2 separate regions of the Homo sapiens genome follow, and region 2 is linked to region 1. Evidence: promoter capture Hi-C in 16 types of primary human blood cells and fetal thymus (Javierre and others, 2016). All regions are on one chromosome and are shown on one strand. The core of a region is centred on a gene start or on the middle of the fragment in contact, and the rest is flanking DNA. Distances in the headings are between cores, read along the strand shown. Region 1 holds the start of GARIN4 (golgi associated RAB2 interactor family member 4). Region 2 has its middle 17 kb from the start of LINC02771.

Region 1 (3,754 bases), core at 1,089-3,588:
CCTCCCTCCTCTCTCTTGCCTTCCACCTGCCCCTTTGGCTTTCCCTGAGAGCTGGCCTGACACCTGTTTCAGAGTCAAGAGCTTTTAAAGGGTTCTGGCCCAGGACAGGAGTTCTGGAATGGAATCTTTCCACTTTCTGTTAACTAAAATACTATTTTCCATCTGTATCCTAATTTCTCCCCATGGGCTTTGAATAAACCCTCAACACTCCAACCCATATCAAGCTTTCTCCTCTCTTCCCTGTCCCGTAACCTCTGGTTGGGTTCATGTACTGTTTCTTTGTGGCGTGAACAGCGTTTCCAATTAGAATCTGCCTGAAAGGAGGTCCCATTTGCCCACTGAGCATCCTGTGTTCTCATGGTGGCTCTAACTCCAGAAGATTTTAACACAGTCTCATCAAACACTGCTTTCAGGGAGGAATTTACACTGAGGTTAAAAGGACTGTTGAGGACTAATGCTAACAGAAGCTAACATTTATTGCGTAGGACAATACACTAAACACTTCACATGTATTATCCCATTTAATCCTCACAACAACTGCTACCCCCATTTTACAGATGAGGGAGTGGAGAGCTCAGTAACTTGCTCGAGGTCTCACAGTGGATCTTTCCAAAGCTGAAGCCTATGCTTGTTTTCAACAGCAATGATTTCAAACAAGAGTATATACATTTGTGTGTGTGTGCGTGGTAAGATATACAAAAAATTTGCCATTGTAACTATTTTGAAGTGTACAATTCAGTGCCATTAAGTACATTCACAATGCAGTGTAACCATTACTATCTAGTTCCAGAACTTTTTCACTGTCCCCAAAGGAAATCCTGTACCCATTAAGGAGTCACTCTTCATTCCCCTTCCTTCCAGTCTCTGGCAACCACTAATCTGTCTTCTGTTTCTATGGACTTGCCTGCGCTGGATATTTTATGTAAATAGCATCATACAATATGTGGCCTTTCGCACAATACGGCTGGCTTCTTTCACTTAGCATAATGTTTTCAAGTGTCAGCCTAGCGTATTATGTAATAGTACCTTATTTCTCTTTATGGCTGAATAGTATTCTGTTGTATGGATACTATACTTTTTGTTTATCCATTCATCAGTTGATAGACAGGTGTGTGTATGTTAAGAAACAGCTAGCCTTTATCTTCAAGAACTGAATCTCTAAGGTAGGATTTCAGGCCTGATGTCAAGCTGGGAGAAAAGAGAGTTGGAAGCAGGTGCTCCTTTTCAGGACTTCCAGGTAACAGCTTGGAAATTACTTATTCCTGGGCTCGCTCTGTGGGCATGGCAAGGCAGGAGGTATAGTAGCACCTGTTCCCCATGGATGTAAATGGCTTCCAAAGTACTTCTGCATAGTAGAGAGGTTAGTAGAGGAGGGCCTTTGATAGGCTCCTGGAATGTAAGCTCACACTTTCCATCCTACCCTCTTCTCCCGGCATTTCACAGGGTAGGGGGTAAGAAGAGGCACGGGGCAAACACTGGGGGCCTTGAGAAAATATTTGGGCTCCCTGACACAGGATGTTGGTATAAACATGATGGAGGAGAAATAGAGGTGGCCCCTTGGATAATTTAATCCCCCACTCAGCCCAGCCCCTTTCTGAAGTGGTTGTCCTGGATTCTCCATAACATGCATGCATACACACACACACACACACACACACACACAGAATTAATTATGCAACTTATTTGGCTTGCCCAAGCTTTTTTTGTAAGTTCTGTAGTGGTTCAGAAGGAAGATTTTAAAAGCAGCAAGACCTGTATTCAAATAATACCTCCACTGCCTACGAGTTCTACAAATGCAGGTATGTTTCACAACTTCAGGTTTTTTTTACCTGTAAGATGAGAAGCGTTGCAATAGTATCAAACTGGAATGGAGTTTGATACATAGTATGGCGCCTAGAAGAAGCAATCTCTCATGTTATTATTAAAGGTTGAGGTTATTACTAAAGATTTCCATTGTCAGCATGAACTGAGATTTTATGGAAGAGTGGGCTAAGAACCAAGACTGCGAATTCTAGGTTAAAAAAAAATTTAAACCGTGTACTCAAATGGTTCAAATTTATCCCATCATCTTGCGTTCCTGTAGACTCTGCCTAGTTGCTGAATCTTTTGAATTTGGGGTGAGGAAGGGGAAGCAACCACACATTTTCTCATTTGAAAAATTTTTATTTTGGCACCCACTTGAGTACCTGGCACGGTGGGGCTGTCCTCTATGGGGGCAATGGAGTATTAGTGAGGGCATTGTGGCCCTGGCCTGGGGGATGAGAACAAAGGGGTATGTGACAGCAACAGGTCACAAAGGGAAGCAGAAGATAAATATGGCTGCACAGGGGGTTTAGGCAGAGAGGGTCGTCACTTCCTGTCACTAGGACTACAGTTTGTAGTCTCTCTCAGGGAGAGAGACTACAAACTGTAATTAAAAAAATCAGAGGTGGAGGTCAGGGGGTTAGGTCCAGAAGAAAACCTCTCTGGAGCCCACCCTGCATCTCTACGTCTTGGAAGAGTCTGGAGTCCAGGCACCCTACAGCACCCCCCACAGCAATCATCCGTGCTCCCACCCCCACCCCGGCCTCTGGGAGGCTCTGAGGCAACAGTGGGGGCCTGTGGGGTGGGGTGGGATTGAGAGACCAGCTGCAGAGACATCTTTGTGACCCAGGAGCACCACTGGTCCCTCATCTGCCACCGAGGCCAAGGAAGACCCAGAGACCTGCCTCACCAGTGCTGCCGTTGTGCTGAAAGACAACCATGAATGCTGATTTTCTGCTGCCGTATTATACGGCCCAGAGTGGCTCCAGCATGAGCATGTTCAACACCACCATGGGGAAACTGCAGCGACAACTGTACAAGGGGGAGTACGATATATTCAAGTATGCACCGATATTTGAGAGCGACTTTATCCAGATCACCAAAAGGGGAGAAGTGATTGATGTGCACAACCGTGTCCGTATGGTGACCATGGGCATTGCACGTACCAGCCCCATCCTCCCACTCCCAGATGTCATGCTACTGGCACGACCGGCCACCGGCTGCGAAGAGTATGCTGGACATGGCCAGGCCACCAAGAGAAAAAAACGCAAGGCAGCAAAGAACTTAGAGCTCACCAGGCTTCTGCCCCTGAGGTTTGTACGGATCTCTGTTCAAGACCATGAGAAACAACAGCTGCGCCTGAAGTTCGCCACTGGCAGATCTTGCTATCTGCAATTGTGTCCCGCTCTTGACACACGGGATGACCTCTTTGCCTATTGGGAAAAACTAATTTACCTCTTGCGGCCACCCATGGAGAGTAACAGCAGTACCTGTGGCATTCCAGCTGAAGACATGATGTGGATGCCTGTGTTTCAGGAAGACAGGAGGAGCCTGGGAGCCGTGAACCTTCAAGGAAAGGGGGATCAGGACCAGGTCAGCATCCAAAGCCTCCACATGGTCTCTGAGGTGTGTGGGGCCACCTCTGCTGCTTATGCTGGAGGGGAGGGACTCCAAAATGACTTTAACAAACCCACTAATGTGCTCAATGCATCCATCCCCAAAACATCTACAGAACTTGCTGAGGAGCCAGCAACAGGGGGGATTAAAGAGGCAGCAGCAGCAGGGGCAGCTGCAGGGGCAGCAACAGGCACCGTAGCAGGTGCCTTGAGTGTGGCAGCAGCCAATTCTGCCCCTGGACAGGTGAGCGCAGCCATAGCTGGGGCGGCCACCATCGGTGCAGGAGGAAACAAAGGCAACATGGCCCTTGCAGGCACTGCCAGCATGGCTCCAA
Region 2 (3,754 bases), core at 805-3,304, 170 kb before region 1:
AGTGGGTGGCTGGTGGGTGCAGCTATTTCAGAGTAGCCTGATCAGCCAGGCTGCTGCTGTCTTTTCCCTGTGTGTGAGCCAGGCTTTTGCTCCCCTGCTGTCCCCCCGCCCCCTTGGCTGCAGTTACCTCTACCCTGTCCTTGCCTCTCCCAGCTGAAGCCTACTTCCTGCCTCACTGCCCCTGCCCCTGCCTCTTGTCCAAGTCGGTGCTGATGGTCATTGCAATAGCGGCACTGGGCTAGCATGAGCCAGGTGCTGGCATGCCATGTTTGCGGCTTAATTTATTCTCTTCAAGGTGGTACTAACATTTGGTTGGGTCTTAGGAAGCATAAGTAACTTGCAAGGGAAACTACACCTCTGACAACTGAGAGGTGCTGGAGCTGAGATTCCAAGGCAAGTCTTCCTTCCAGCCTGGCCACTTTCCATTCTGCCCTGTTGTGCTTCAAGATCGAGCCTTCCAGGGAGCTCCACCCCAGGGCCATTGGAATTAGGATGTGGCATGCCGAGCTGGTGGCAGAGACTCTAAAATCATAGCCAGGGAAGGTACCTGGAGGTCCTGTGGAGAGAGACTCTACTTCTGTGTGTGTGTGTGTGTGTATGTGTGTGTCTGTCTGTCTCTCTGTCTCCCAGGCTGGAGTGCAATGGTGCAAACTGCAACCTCTGCCTCCTGGGTTCAAGTGATTCTCCTGCCTCAGCCTCCCAAGTAGCTGGGATTACAGGCACCTGCCACCACACCCGGCTAATTTTTTTACTTTTAGTAAAGACAGAGTTTCACTATGTTGGCCAGGGTGGTCTTGAACTCCTGATCTCAAGTAATCCTCCTGCCTCGGCCTGCCAAAGTGCTGGGATTGTAGGCATGTGCCACTACACCTGGCCTTGTTTTGCTTTTTTTTTTTTTTTTTTTTTTTAACACATAGTTTAATCCTTTAGTTAACAAGTATTTCTTGTGCTCTAGTCTTCACAGAATTCTGTGGTGAACAAGACCTGCTGTCATTTGAGAGAGGCTCTCTCGGACTAAGGATGTGTGATACAGGCTCAGGGTACTAAGCCCCATGGCATCACCCAGAGGGAGGTCGTGGGACCCAGGCCCACCTGTGGGAGCTCAGAGCCTGCTGGTGGCAGCTGCAAGCCACCCCAAAGATAGGAGAGGTCATAGTGGCTGTGGTGGCCGGTGATGCCCACCTGGAGGCCATGTGAGCTGTGGCTGGGACTCCCTTGTCTAATCTCCCCCATATTTCTGGATTTGGCCTCCACATTGAGGAATCTCTTACTACTCAGGATCCCTGAAATACATCTGTTGCCTTCCTGCCTGAGCCCTCTCACTTCTTCCCCTTTCCCGTTTATCCATGACCCTCCCCTTAACTGTCACTCATAACCTCTGTCTGATTCACACCACTGCACTCTCTCTGCCATTCCTTCAAAGATCAAGCAGTTTCCTTCTGTTAAACAAAATGTATGGGAGGCCATTATTTGGACTGACCTCCTGCATTAGGGTCCAACAGACCCATCCAAAATGGAGTCACTCACACTAAGGTTCCGCACCACGAAACCAAAAACGAAGCTGTTTACTTGGATCTGAGCTTCTGAGAAATCAGGAGAGAGTTGATAGTCATATCCCATTAGGCTAACAAGATCCTCAATAAGGAAAGTAACTTTGAAACGGCCAATCTGCATCTTATTTCTTGTTTTGGCTTTCTTCAGCCTTTTCTGCCTATAAGCTCAGCCCTTAGCTCAGCTCATGGGAGTTCCTTTTTATTTTGTAGACTGGATACTGCCCAGTTCATGAATTGCTAATAAAGGCAAACTAGACCTTTACAGCTCAATTTATTGAAATTTTGTTATTTGATACGTCCCACAATTTAACAATTGCACCTGATTTCACATATCCATTAATCAACAAAGGAGATGCATATTTCTTGCTTATTATATGTCCAGCACTGCCCTAGGTCCTGGTTTTGGGGTGAGGTGGGAGGAAGGATCGATTAAAATAAATGCAGGAACCTGCTCTGCTCTTAAGGGTCCCCAAAGAGGAGAGCAGTGGGCTGAGTTGCAAAGTGGTTTCTCTAGGACCAGGAGCTGTGGAGATCCACAGGGATCCCAGCCACAGAGTCCCCAGCAAGGCAGGCTTGGGGTAGGAGCTTGCTGAAGGGTGTTGGTTTTTTCTTGGACACTTCTGTCCTGGTCCGACCCACCAGCAGCTGCCTGCATGGGACGACAGTGCCCCCTGGTGGTCAATTCCGGGAACTCTCCAGCAGCTGTTTTGTAAAGCCCAGAGGATTAAGCTCCCTCAAGAACTTCTATTTTTGGTTCCCAGTATTTCCATAATGAAATGCTAACAGAAGCAGCCAAATGGCTTCCCAAAGGACCTGAAAGCTGCACTGCCGAACTCCTGTGTTCTCCAGCTCTCTGCTTCCCAGGGGTCAGATCTGCTGTTGGTTCTCAGGGGCAGTTCTCTGTTCCATACGGTTTAATTAAAGGGTCCCAGGGAGAGCAACTATATGTTTGCCTTGCCGAGTCTGACCTCAGGCTGTGTGCACATTCAGAGTGACGTGTTGGAAAGAACACTGGATCCAGGATCAGGAGGCTCATCCCACGCCAGCCGCTAAGTAGCTGTGAGATAATAATTTCAATAATAGCTACATTTTATTCAGTATTTACTCTGAGCCAGACATTGCACCAAGAGCTTCACATACATTGTTGACTTTGATCCTCACAACAAGCCTGTGAGATTGATACTGCTGTCATCTCCAGAAATCGAGGCAGAGAGAAGTCAAGTAACTTGGCCAAGATCATACAGTATGTGGCAGAGTTAGGACTTGAGTTCATGTTTCTGGGCATCCACTATGCTACACTGAACTGTGGAACTCAAAGAATCGGAAACTAGTGGTAGTGTCCAGACACTGATGTTTTTAAATGTTCCCCAGGTGATGGTGATGTGGAGCCACCTTTGTAATCTATAGGGTCCCACCAGCTATAACACTCAATGAGCCCCATGCCTTCCAAGAAGCAGAGGTGAAGTTGGGATGAGGGGAGAAGCCTGGGTTCAGGCCCTAATCTCCATGGATGTACAGGGCTGAACAGAGTCACAAGCACAGCAGAAACACCATGATGGCAGAGCAGTCATCCTGCCTGCTGTCCTCTTTATCTGGAGATGGTTTGTAGGACAGGAGAGCAATTGCCTTCCACAACATTCCTCAGAGTTCGTTATGTCGCATACACCCCAATCTACAGATCCATCACCTGTCCATTTATCTCAATGCCTCTAGAGCCATTTTCTATTTTTTAATAGATTCATTTGACAAACACTTGAGACTTATGATGTGCCAGGCCCTGAGTCTGCAGGGGTGGAAGAAGCTGGCATGGCCCCACTCTTGTGAGTTGGCAATCTAGAGGAGGAGATAGACAGACAGCACATTTTGGAAAAAAAAAAAGCACACTGTGACACATGCTCTGAACGACACAGCAATGCACAGTGGTGGAAAACAATAGGAGAGCAGAGGGACCTAATAAGACAGAATGAGCTGGGATTAAGCAGAGACCAGAAGAATGTGTTTAGTGTGTGCCTCCTGTTGGTAAATGAGCTCTGTTGTGTTCACTACACACTGGGCAGTTTGGTGCAGAGCTTGCTTTTCCCTGGGCCTCTACTGGAGTCCCCTCCAGGAGACATGGGGTGGCTGCTGTTGACATTTTCTCCCTGAAAGCCCAGGTATCTCTCCAGAGATGGAGAACTCTGAGCTTCCTTTTTACAGAAAGG

What was found. Contacts are between HindIII fragments. The CHiCAGO score rates a contact against its expected background, and 5 or more counts as called.
Region 2: a contact is called between a fragment that was not itself captured here and the fragment with the promoter of GARIN4 in region 1, in 3 of 17 cell types (M1 macrophages, M0 macrophages and M2 macrophages). The highest score is 6.6, in M1 macrophages.

The regions. Positions count from the first base shown.
Region 1 is chr1:212,622,136-212,625,889 of GRCh38, forward strand. GARIN4 (golgi associated RAB2 interactor family member 4) reads left to right here and starts at 2,339. Exons shown (of 1, transcript NM_153606.4): 1 at 2,339-3,754. The coding sequence starts at 2,743. The HindIII fragment of the contact is 9,349 bases long and covers 1,696-3,754 here.
Region 2 is chr1:212,453,837-212,457,590 of GRCh38, forward strand. No RefSeq gene overlaps it. Among named protein-coding and RNA genes, the nearest start is that of LINC02771, 17 kb to the right of the region's middle. The HindIII fragment of the contact is 6,682 bases long and covers 1-3,754 here.